3 separate regions of the Homo sapiens genome follow, and regions 1 and 2 are each linked to region 3. Evidence: promoter capture Hi-C in 16 types of primary human blood cells and fetal thymus (Javierre and others, 2016). All regions are on one chromosome and are shown on one strand. Each heading gives the region's core, a stretch centred on a gene start or on the middle of the fragment in contact. The rest is flanking DNA. Distances are from core to core; before and after follow the strand shown. Region 1 holds the start of KAT8 (lysine acetyltransferase 8). Region 2 holds the start of PRSS36 (serine protease 36). Region 3 overlaps SETD1A (SET domain containing 1A, histone lysine methyltransferase).

Region 1 (3,934 bases), core at 976-3,475, 150 kb after region 3:
TCTCGAACTCCCGACCTCAGGTGATCTGCCTGCCTCGGCCTCCCAAAGTGGTGGGATTACAGGAGTGAGCCACTGCGCCCAGCCTCCTTTTCTTTCCCCCCTTTTTTTTTGAGACAGGGTCTCTGTCACCCAAGCTGGAGTGCAGTGGAGGGATTATAGCTCACTCAGCCTCGACCTCCTGGGTTTAAGCGATCCCTCTGCCTCAGCCTCCTGAGTAGGTGGGACTACAGGTGCGGGCCCCGAGGCCCAGCTAATTTTTTTTTTCCCCCAAATTTTTAGTAGAAAGGAGGTCTCTATGCTGCCCAGGCTGGTCTTGAACTCCTGGCCTGAAGCGATCCTCCTGCTTGGATTCCTGAAGTGCGAGATTACAGGTGTGAGCCACCATACCTCAACACTGTATTTTCAACCCGCTCTTCGTTCAATCTCCAAAGGTGGGACATGCGGATATGGAGGGCCGATTGTGTATGGTTGGACCATACACATATAAATGGCTTTAACCTTTACTGACTCTCACAGAACCCTCAGTGCAGTGGCGTGATCTCAGCTCACTGCAAGCTCCACCTCCCGGGTTCACACCATTCTCCTGCCTCAGCCTCCCGAGTAGCTGGGACTACAGGGGCCCGCCACCACGCCCGGCTAATTGTTTTGTATTTTTTTTTAGTAGAGACGGAGTTTCATCGTGTTAGCCAGAATAGTCTCGATCTTCTGACCTCGTGATCCACCCGCCTAGGCCTCCCAAAGTGCTGGGATTACAGGCGTGAACCACCGCACCCGGCCTTTTTATTTTTTTTGAGATGGAGTCTGGCTCTTGGTCCCCAGGCTGGAGTGCAATGGCGGGATCTCGGCTCACTGCAACCTCCGCCTCCCGGGTTCAAGCGATTCTCCTGCCTCAGCCTCCCGAGTAGCTGGGACTACAGGTGCGTGCCACCACGCCCGGCTAAATTTTGTATTTTTAGTAGAGACGGAGTTTCACGGTGTTAGCCAGGATGGTCTCGATCTCCGCCCGCCTCGGCCTCTCAAAGTGCTGAGATTACAGGCGTGAGCCACCACGCCCCGCCCAACTCGTCCTTTCTTTAGACTTTATCCTGTGAGGGTGAATTATGGCCTGTCCCTGGACACACCCGTTCTGCTTTCCCCGCACCAACTGTATCCCAAATAGGGGAAGTAGTCTCTTCAACCTTCAAAAATGGGGCACTGGCTGGGCACGGTGGCTCACGCCTGTAACCCTAGCACTTTGGGAGGCCGAGGCGGGCGGATCACCTGAGGTCAGGAGTTCGAGACCAGCCTGGCCAACAGGGTGAAGCCCTCTCTCTACTAAAAATACAAAAAATAGCCGGGCGTGGTGGCGCGCGATTGTAATCCCAGCTATTCAGGAGGCTGAGGCAGGAGAATCGCTTGAACCCGGGAGGCGGAGGCTGCAGTGAGCCGAGATCGCGTCACTGCACTCCAGCCTGGGCGACAGAGCGAGACTCCATCTCAAAAAAAAAAAAGGGGGGGGGGCGGGGAGCGACATTAGGCCAGCGCGAGTGTGCGGCTCCAGGCCACCAGGGCGGCCGCTCTGGCTCTGCCCTGTTAAAGTGGGGGCAGCGCCCGCTGAAAATTGGCACATCTTGGCTTCCGCAGGTACCAGGGCCTTTAAAAAGGTTCAGCTGGCCGGGCACGGTGGCTCACGCCTATAATCCCAGCACTTTGGGAGGTTGAGGCTGGCAGATCACGAGGTCAAGAGATCAAGACTATCCTGGACAACATGGTGAAACCCCGTCTCTACTAAAAATACAAAAATTAGATGGGCGTGGTGGCGCGCGCCTGCAGTCCCAGCTACCCGGGAGGCTGAGGCAGAGGAATCGCTTGAACCCGGAGGCGGAGGTTGCAGTGAGCCGAGATCGCGCCTCTGCACTCCAGCCTGGGCGACAGAGCATGATTCCGTCTCAAAATAAATAAATAAATAAATAAATAAATAAATTAAAAAAAGGTTGAGTTGAGTCATCGCATGAGGTAAGTCTGTCTCCTCTCCTCACCCATAGGCTGCAGCCACAGGTCCGCACGGAAAACCAGGAGCTCCAAGACTGCCGCACACTCAACATCCAACTCGCGGGGCCGCGGGGACGGCCACAGAAGCCAATCGGCTCCTGCTACATCACAGACCCCGCCCTCAAACCTTGAGGAGCCCGCCCCACGCACTGCTGACCCGGAGCCAAAAGAACTGCGTGGCGTCCGATTCTGGCGTCACTTCCCTTCCCGCGATGGCGGCACAGGGAGCTGCTGCGGCGGTTGCGGCGGGGACTTCAGGGGTCGCGGGGGAGGGCGAGCCCGGGCCCGGGGAGAATGCGGCCGCTGAGGGGACCGCCCCATCCCCGGGCCGCGTCTCTCCGCCGACCCCGGCGCGCGGCGAGCCGGAAGTCACGGTGGAGATCGGAGAAACGTACCTGTGCCGGCGACCGGATAGCACCTGGCGTGAGGGCGGGGCCCAGGGCTGGGGGCGGGGCGGAGCTCAGGGCCAGGGGGTGGGGCGGGGCCTGAGGACAGGCTGTCAGTGAGGCCAAGATCCGGGGGCTGGGAGTGGAGAGGAGGAGGGGCGGGGCTTGAGGAAAGAACGCCGCGTTCCGGGCGCTGAGAAACCAGCCGGGTTGTGGGAGGCTGTTGACCTTGAATTATGCCGAGCGACGCCTACAAACCCACCGCTCAGGCCTTCACCAGGATTGTTCCCATTCCACTTCCTTGCCCAGTCTTAGGCTTCATTCCTTTTTCTTGCTAACGCTGCTTCCTCACCCTCTCTTGTCTCTGCGTCTTCTTTTTCCATTTGTCCCTGGCAGCCATCCGCAGAGAGAAGACCTTCCAGAAACAACAGGCTTCCCTTTCCTAAAGTTCTGCTGCCTTCTCTCATTTTCAAAATTAACCCCAAACTCCTTAGGGTGGCATTCATTTTTGTGACCTCTCCAGTTTCTAGCCAACACTAGGAAAGGGCATTGCCAGGCCAGAACACACTGTGCCCTCTGAAGACCACACGCCCTTTACCACCTGTGCCCTTTGCTTGGAATGCTTTTTCTTCCCTTTCTCCTTGTTTGCCTGCCTAGCTCCTACTCATCCTCTTAGCTTCATATCCTTTGTGATGTCATCCTTGATTCCCCTTCAGGCAAAGTGAGTGGTTCCCTTCTCTATGTTCCTGCAACATTTTTTTCCTACCTCAGTCATAGTTTTTGTAACATTATGTTGTAATTTTCTCTCTCTGTCTTCCTCCATCATACTGGGAACTTCTGGAGGGCAGCACTTCTTGTGATTCATCACTGTGTCCTCTGTACCCGGCAACAACACAGCATAGGGCCAGACACGTAGTGGTTGCCTTACTCATTTATTGAATGCTCTGCTAATTGTCAGGTGCGCTGCTAAAAATTTTGGAGGCATTAATTCACCTTCTAAGGTTGGTACTATTATCCCTTTTGTCTTTTTTTTTTTTTTTTTTTTTGAGACAGGATCTCGCTCTGTCACCCAGGTGGGATTGCCGTGGCACGATGACAGCTCACTGAAGCCTAGACCTTCTAGGCTCAAGTGATCCTCCCACCTCACCCTCTCAGAGTGTTGGGATTACTGGCATGAGCCACTGTGCCCAGCTGTTATCCCTTTTCACAGATGAAGAGACTGAGGCTCAGAAAGATGGAATAACTTGCTCAGTTACACATAGCTAGGAAGTAGGGAGCTGGAATTTTGTGTATTTTTTTTTGTTTGTTTGTTTGAGATGGAATCGCTCTCTGTTGCCAGGCTGGAGTGCAGTGGCGCCATCTTGGCTCACTGCGATCTCTGCCTCCCGGATTCAAGCGATTCTCCTGCCTCAACCTCCTGAGTAGCTGGGACTACAGTTGTGCGCCACCACACCCAGCTAATTTTTGTATTTTTAGTAGAGACGAAGTTTCACCATGTTGGCCAGGATGGTTTTGAC
Region 2 (3,860 bases), core at 864-3,363, 180 kb after region 3:
GCTATGCCAGGCACTGTACTATGAACTTTACATGGATTTTCTCATTTAATCCACTCAACCACCCCTTGAAGTGGGTATGGCTATTTTCCTCGTGTTACAGATGAGGAAATGTACTGGGTGAAGTGCTTTGTCTGACATGTTAGAGCTGGGATGGGAACCCTAGTCGGAGCCTAAACCCAGGAAAGAAAAAACTGGAAGGACAGGTAAGGAGGGAATGGGGTGCGTGTGGGTGATTCCGTGGTCTTAGTTTGAGAATCCTTGCAGGGAGAAGGCTACATGGAGATCGGTGTGGGATTCATCCACCGACCCGCAGAAACCTACCCTCCAACGCTCCCCGCAGGCTCCGCTCCGTGGCCCCACCTCCTGAGGCCCCGCCCTAGGAACCTCACCTCTCGAAGCCCCACCTCCCCGAGGCCCTCCCCTCTTGTCCCGTCCCACTCACCTGCCTCCTGGACGTCTCCCCAGCCGGTGGCCCAGCAGGCGGTGCCGTGCACGAAGCGGTGTGAGGCGCGGGGCAGGCAGACAGGCCACACGGCGGGGCCCAGGCTGGCGGGTGAGGCCAGGCGCAGCAGGGCCAGGTCGGCGCCCAGCTCCACTTGGCTGTAGTTGGCCGGCACCACGATGGCGGCCACTGCGCGGGTGTGCGCGCCGTCCAGGGGCCCGTCCTGGGAGTGCACGCCCAGCAGTACCGACCACTCGGCCGCGGGCTCCAGCGTCCCATTCCTGCGCTCGACCGGGGCAGTAGGAGGTTAGGTTGACCCTATGGAGGGGGCAGACCCTCGTTGGGGGCAGGGGCTCAGAGCCAGAGGGGCAGGTGCTATCCGATCCAGATTTGGTGCTGATACTCCTCAAAGGGGAAGAGCAAATCCGATTTGGAGCTGGTGGTGGGGGGGTCATTGGAAAGATGGGATTCAGACCCGGATATTGAGTGGAGTGGTGGGACCAGTCCGGCAGCCTTGCCCCACTCGGAACCATGATGCCTCGAATAGCACCTCGCTTTGGGGACAGCTTGGCTCCAAATTATCCTTGAGGACGGAAGTGGGGCGGGAGGAGGGGACCAACTGCGGGGGCGGGGGCCAGCTTTTGGCGGAGAGGGGCCAGGACCAGGGCGAATACTCACGTCATGAAACAGTGAGCAGCGGAGAGGACCCAGGAGGGGGCGATGAGGGAGCCCCCGCAGATGTGGCCACCTCCATGGTGCAGGCTCACTTGCCAAGGCCAGGTGCCCGGCTGCGCGTTTGAGCCCCCCACGATGCGGGCCGAGGGCTCAGGGCGCCCGCAGTCTGCAACGGGGAGCCGTGGAAGCCAAAGCTCCCCTCGGGTTCCCCACTCCAGAAGCCCAGGTAACTCAGGACGAAGGCCCGTCCTCCACCCACTTCAGTTTGCCCCTCTGAACAAAGAACATAGAGGACCCAGGCTTGTCTACATTTCTGGTCTTTTCCACCTCCCTCATGGCCTGACCAGCCTTAGCCTCCTTTAAGGTCTGAGGGTGCCAAGGCCTCTTCCTTACCCAGATCTTCAGGTTCTTCCTGGGTAGGACTGAGAGCTGGGAGCCAGAGGGGAAAGAGAGGAGGACACTTGTGACTTCCAGGCCTGCACCGCCCAGCCCCACTTCCTGCTCTCCAACCCCCGACCCTATCTTCCCACTTCCCTGTCCGTTCAGCAACCCCTGCCAGCACCCATGCCAGTCCTCTGGTCTTTTCTGCCTCTGCACGTGACTTTCCCCCAGTCCGGCTACCTTACCTGAGTCCTGGAAGGCTCCTGGGATGGGACTGATGACTGGAAAGACAGAGGTAGGCAGGAAGAGGCTGGCGACTCGCACTCAGTATGTGCCCTCCCTGACTCCCTCCCCCAGCCTCCTAGCCTCCGTCTCCCCAGGGCACCCAGGCCTCCCTCTCCCTCCTCTGATACATCCTCGCCTTCTGCTGCCTCACTTCCTTCTCTCTGACTTCCTGCTCCCCACACAGAAACCAGGAATCCTGCTCTCCAGCCCCCCAGATGCCAGGACCCAGGCCCTTTGCAGCCACTCTTGTCCCCTGAGGTTACCAAGCATCACAAGGGGGAGGAGCAGGTGCCGGGCCATGGCGCTAGAGTCAGCGGAGGCAGAGCCAAGTGAAGGTCTGCTCCCTGCAGGGCTCTGTCACTGCCCAGGCAGCCCGTGACTCCTGATGGTCCCAGGGGCAGCCCCACCCTCCCTGGCTGGAGCCCATCTCTGGGAATCTGAGAGGATCTGGGGCTGGAAGGGGGAAGCTGGGGAGCCTGAAGGCCCCACCCAGAGCCCTGCGCACATCTCATGTCTCTGGAGGCCCAGGGTGGGGGTGGAGGACAGGTGTCCTAGCTCCTGGACACCTGTTGGGTGGGAGAGGGAGGGATGAAAAACACTGCAGGCAAAGGTCAAAGAGGAGGACAGTGTTCTGTGTCCTTGGTGAGCAGTGGCCCTTAGGACAGGGGAAGTGGCCCCTCACGGGCATGACTCATCGGAGACCTCACCTCTGTTTGGGGTGCGGCTGCCCCAGTGGCTTGGCCTTTTCTTCTCACACAGCTCTGGTTACTGGAGCTGCTGGCCAGGTCTGGGACAGGAGCCCTAGGGAATTCAATCCCATCCCAACAAAAGGATCACAGATTCCAGCAGGTTGGGCAGGGCATAGGGACCCTGGGAGGGGGCTGGGCAGGCTGGCGAGGCTGAAAAAGCCTCCACCCTGCTCTGTGTTCCAGTGACAATGCTCTTAGCTGCCCTGTCACTTACTCTGTGTGACTTTGGGAAAGTAACCCAACCTCTTGGTGTGTATCAGTAAGAGCCAGTTTAAGGGACATATGACTTGGCCGAGCACGGTGGCTCACTCCTGTGATCCTAACACTCTGGGAGACTGAGGTGGGAGGATTGCTTGAGGCTAGGAGTTCAAGACCAGCCTGGTCAACATAGCAAGACCCCATCTCTACAAAAAATTAAAAAATACAAAAATTATGAACTGCAGGGCGTGGTGGTGCACGTCTGTATCCCAGCTACTCGGGAGATGAGGTGGGAGGATTGCTTGAGCCTGGGAGGTCGAGGTTGCAGTGAGCTATGATTGTGCCACTGCACTCCAGCCTGGGTGACAAAGCGAGACCCTGTCTCAACAACAACAACAAAAAGAAAAAAAAAAAGAAGAATAAGAAGAAGAAAGAAACATATGGCTCTTCAAAGAGGAGTTGAAGAGAGTTTAAGGAAGAAACTATTTATAGAAGTGTAGGCAGGGTCAAAGGAAACCAAAGAGGCTGGGTGGCTCACGGCTGTAATCCCAGCACTTTGGTAGGCCGAGGCGGGCAGATCACCTGAGGTCAGGAGTTCAAGACCAGCCTGGCTAACTTGGAGAAGCCCCATCTATACTAAAAATACAAAAATTAGCCGAGTGTGGTGGAACTCACCTGTAATCCCACCTATTAGGGAGGCTGAGGCAGATAAAAATGCTTGAACCCAGGACGTGGAGGTTGCAGTGAGCCAAGATAGCGCCGTTGCACTCTAGCCTGGGTGACAAGAGCGAACTCCGTCTCACAAAAAAAAAAAAAAAAAGGAAACCAAAGAGGGATGGTAACGCATCCTGGGGCCAGCAATAATAGAGAGCCCTTGCTACCTGCTGGCCTGAAGAGGCAGAGAGGGGGCAGTTACTGGAACCCAGCAAGAGCTGCAGCTATGGAAGAGATAGCTGTTAGGAGCCGTGGCCTTCAATAGAGAAATGCAGCCTTTACCAGCAGAGAGGGAGTGGGGAAAGAAAAATCCCCATCTCACTCTCATCTCATCCTCTCTATTTTTAATTAAACCAATTAAAAAATTTTAGAGACACGGTCTCACTCTGTCACCCAGGCTGGAGTGCAGTGCTGTG
Region 3 (3,929 bases), core at 221-2,720:
ATACACACACATATGCGTATCTGTATATATTAAGGCCAGGCAGGGTGGAGCTCACCTGTAATCCCAGCACTTTGGGAGGCCGAGGCGGGTGGATCACAAGGTCAAGAGATCGAGACCATCCTGGCCAACATGGTGAAACCCCGTCTCTACTAACAATAGAAAAATTAGCCAGGCGTGGTGGCGGGTGCCTATAGTCCCAGCTACTTGGGAGACTGAGGCAGGAGAATTGCTTGAACCCGGGAGGCAGAGGCTGCTGTGAGCTGAGATTGTGCCACTGCACTCCAGCCTGGCGACAAAGCGAGACTCCGTCTCAAAAAAAAAAATATATATATATATGCCAGGCACGATGGCTCACGCCTATAATCCCAGCACTCCAGGAGGCTGAGGCAGGAGGATCACTTGAACCCAGGAGTTCAATACCAGCCTGAGCAACATAGGTAGACCCTGTCTCTACAAAAATTTTTAAAAATTAGCTGGGTATGATTGCATGCCCCTGTATAGTCCCAGTTACTCAGGAGACCGAGGCAGGAGGATCGCTTGAGCCCAGCAGGTTGAGGCTGCAGTGAGCTGTGGTCATGCCACTGCACCCCAGCCTGAGTGACAGAGCAAGACCCCGTCCCAAAAACAAAAACAAATACAAAACTATGAAACATGAGGTAACTGAGGTGTTTGAGTTCCTCTGGTGAGCTTCCAAATTCTCATCTGTGAAATGAAGACCATCAGGAAGATTGGTAATAGTATATGTAAAGCCCCTTGCACAGGGCAAGTATCTTGTGGTTGATGGTAAATTTCCCCAACTACCACTCTGCTGGCCTAGACCCTGAACAAGAGAAGGAGGCTGGAGAGCCAGGACGTCCGGGGACCAAGCCCCCGAAGCGGGACGAAGAGCGAGGCAAGACCCAGGGCAAGCACCGCAAGTCCTTTGCTCTGGACAGCGAAGGGGAGGAGGCATCCCAGGAGTCCTCCTCGGAGAAGGTGAGGGCCCGGGCGCCGGCTCCTGGCCGAAGCCTACTTCCCATAGCCAGCATCTTTGTGGTTGGAGCCCAGGCAGCTGTGCCTGGTGTAGGACCAGTTGTCCCCTTCCTGTTAGTCCTCATTTGTCTTTTTTCTTAAGGATGAGGAGGATGACGAGGAAGATGAGGAAGATGAAGATCGAGAGGAAGCTGTGGATACCACAAAGAAGGAGACAGAGGTGTCGGATGGTGAGCACAAGACAGTGAAATCGACTTTGGGCTCGGAGGAGGGGTTCGGCTGCCTGGCTAGCCCTTTTCTGAGCCCACATGACCTTCCTGCTGGGCTTGTGGGTCACCTTTGCCTTCTGCAAGGGCATCTGTTTGGGCCACATTCTTAGGAACCCTTGGCCCCTTGACAGCAATAAGCTCAGTGCTCAAAATGCTCCCTCCTGCTCCCTCTTCTGCTGAGACATAGCTGTCCAAAAGGACAGCCTGGCAGAACGCTTTTTTTGTTTTGTTTTTTGTTGTTGTTGTTGTTGTTGTTTTGAGAGAGTTTCGCTCTTGTCGCCCAGGCTGGAGTGCAATGGCGCAATCTCGGCTCACTGCAACCTCCGCCTCCTGAGTTCAAGAGATTCTCCTGCCTCAGCCTCCGTTGTAGCTGGGATTACAGGCACCCACCACCACCCCCAGCTAATTTTTTGTATTTTTAGTAGAGACAGGGTTTCACTATGTTGGCCAGACTGGTCTTGAACTCCTGAGCTCAGGCGATCCACCCACCTCAGCCTCTGGAAGTGCTGGGATTACAGGCGTGAGCCACCACACCCAGATTTTTTTTTTTTTTTTTTGAGACAGAGTCTCGCTTTGTCACCCAGGCTGGAGTGCAGTGATGTGATCTTGGCTCACTGCAACCTCCGCCTCCCTGGTTCCAGCGATTTTCCTGCCTCAGCCTCCCAAAGCGCTGGGATTACAGGTGTGAGCCACCACACCTGGCTAATTTTTGTATTTTTAGCAGAGATGGGGTTTTACCATGTTGGCCAGGCTGGTCCCAAACTCATGACCTCAAGTGATCCACCCACCTCGGCCTCCCAAAGTGCTAGGCTTTCACCTGTGAGCCACTGCACGCAGCCTCTTGCAGCAGTCTTGACTGATTTCCCTGTCTCTCTTTCTGTCCTTCTCCCTCTGTTCCAGTCCATTTTCCAAACTGCTTATAGAATCTCTTTCCTAAAATGCACTCCTGACCCTGTGACTTCCCTCCATAAGGTCCTTCCTGGCAACTTGTTCTCCACAGGGTGTCCCCCCAGGCCAACACCATGGGCCGTTTATCTCCTGGCCCTGCTCTGTTCAGCTCCATCTCGCCCTCCTCCAGTCCGCTCCCCAGCTGCCACCACCTTCTAGTCTAACTTATCCAATTCTGTTCCTCAAAAACTGTGAAATTCTTCAGTTTTTTCGAGTCCTTCCCGTACATGAGCAGTCTCAGAATATAGAGCCTGTCGTGTTTTTTAACCTTTTCAGCCCAGAATCCTTTTTCACCCAATCCTTCGTCCAGACTGGGTCCTGAGACCCACTTTAGGAAGGTTTGAGTGCCAGAGCAGCCTGCTTCCCAGTCTCCAAGCCTCCACTTCCTCTTGCTTCCGACATCCCTGTGCAGTCCCCATGTCTGTGTGGTGGACTCCTTGTCCTTGAGTTCAGCTTGTCCCCTGGGATGCTTTCCTTTTCGGGCCTCTTCAGACAGAGTCTGGGGCTTCCTTTGCCATCCTCCCCGCATGCTGATGTTTATCTCACAGTGAAAATGGTTTGCTTATGCAGCTCCTTGGTCTGTTGGACTTCCCCGTCCCTAGCCCAGAGCCCAGCATCCACAGCAGGGAGTGAGTGAGGAGCCCACGGCTGGCCAAGTGAGGTCTGCCCACCTCTCCTGACTGCCCCTTCTGGATTTCCAGGCGAGGACGAGGAAAGCGATTCGTCTTCCAAATGTTCTCTGTATGCTGACTCAGATGGCGAAAATGACAGCACATCAGACTCCGAGAGCAGCAGCTCTTCCAGCTCCTCATCCTCCTCCTCCTCCTCGTCCTCATCCTCCTCGTCCTCTTCATCCTCTGAGTCCTCCTCTGAAGATGAAGAGGAAGAGGAGCGGCCAGCAGCCCTTCCCTCAGCCTCCCCGCCCCCCAGAGAAGTCCCAGTGCCCACGCCAGCACCTGTGGAGGTGCCAGTGCCGGAAAGGGTTGCAGGCTCCCCAGTCACACCCCTGCCCGAACAGGAGGCGTCTCCAGCAAGGCCTGCAGGTAGGTGCCACAGGGCTGTCGGTTAGATCGCTGTGTGTGTGAGAGAGAGAGAGAAAACAGTGGTGCTTGCATTTATTGTGTACAAGTGTGTGACTTTATTAGAAAAACATACAAAGAAAATGTCACCATCTCCTGTCACTACCTTCTAGAGACATTGATTGTCTGACACACTTCAAACTGTACCGTCATGGTGGTTTACAGAACCCCAGGCTAAGCTGCATACTAAAGTAAAATGGGTTGGTCTCTTCTCAAGTAAATTAAGGAGAAAGTGCCCAGTTGAATAAGTTCTTCCTCCTAATTTTTCTTAAGCCTGTTCTTCAGTGAGTAGTGAACAAGTGCAGGTTATTAAATGGGCAAATAGGTAGAAAACAAGTATTAACATAACACAGAACTTGGTCCTAGCTGCTTTTCTTTGTTCATTTGTACGTCTAGTTGTTATACTCTAGCACATTCGCATAGCTTAGCCTGCTGAGGGAACCGCTCTTTCAAGCAGTAGATATTTTTTTGAGTGCTCATCGCAGCCAAACAGTAGGTGCAGGGGATGGGTTGCTGAGCCTCACAGGCAGTGTTCTCACTCTCATCATGCTTACAGTCTACAGGGAAAGACATCTTCATTGAGTAAGAAATACATAGGAGGCCGGGCGCGGTGGCTTACGCCTGTAATCCCAGCACTTTGGGAGGCCAAGGCGGGTGGATC

Evidence for each region. The method cuts DNA at HindIII sites, captures the fragments that hold promoters and counts their contacts. A CHiCAGO score of 5 or more calls a contact.
Region 1: the fragment with the promoter of KAT8 here is called in contact with a fragment that was not itself captured in region 3 in 8 of 17 cell types (naive CD4 T cells, M1 macrophages, M2 macrophages and 5 more); the score reaches 7.7 in naive CD4 T cells.
Region 2: the fragment with the promoter of PRSS36 here is called in contact with a fragment that was not itself captured in region 3 in 17 of 17 cell types (M2 macrophages, M0 macrophages, megakaryocytes and 14 more); the score reaches 17.6 in M2 macrophages.

Annotation. Positions count from the first base shown.
Region 1 is chr16:31,115,439-31,119,372 of GRCh38, forward strand. It overlaps KAT8 (lysine acetyltransferase 8), which reads left to right and starts at 2,226. Exons shown (of 11, transcript NM_032188.3): 1 at 2,226-2,454. The coding sequence starts at 2,244. It also overlaps a transcript of BCKDK not described here. RefSeq lists silencers at 2,044-2,270, 2,170-2,519 and an enhancer at 2,690-2,809. The HindIII fragment of the contact is 10,033 bases long and covers 1-3,934 here.
Region 2 is chr16:31,147,953-31,151,812 of GRCh38, forward strand. It overlaps PRSS36 (serine protease 36), which reads right to left and starts at 2,114. Exons shown (of 15, transcript NM_173502.5): 1 at 2,047-2,114; 2 at 1,744-1,779; 3 at 1,511-1,546; 4 at 1,121-1,283; 5 at 443-723. The coding sequence starts at 2,083. RefSeq lists enhancers at 748-1,285, 1,286-1,821, 1,822-2,358. The HindIII fragment of the contact is 9,446 bases long and covers 1-3,860 here.
Region 3 is chr16:30,968,488-30,972,416 of GRCh38, forward strand. SETD1A (SET domain containing 1A, histone lysine methyltransferase) reads left to right here. Exons shown (of 19, transcript NM_014712.3): 11 at 818-975; 12 at 1,115-1,202; 13 at 2,891-3,232. Among named protein-coding and RNA genes, the nearest start is that of SETD1A, 13 kb to the left of the region's middle. The HindIII fragment of the contact is 6,620 bases long and covers 1-3,929 here.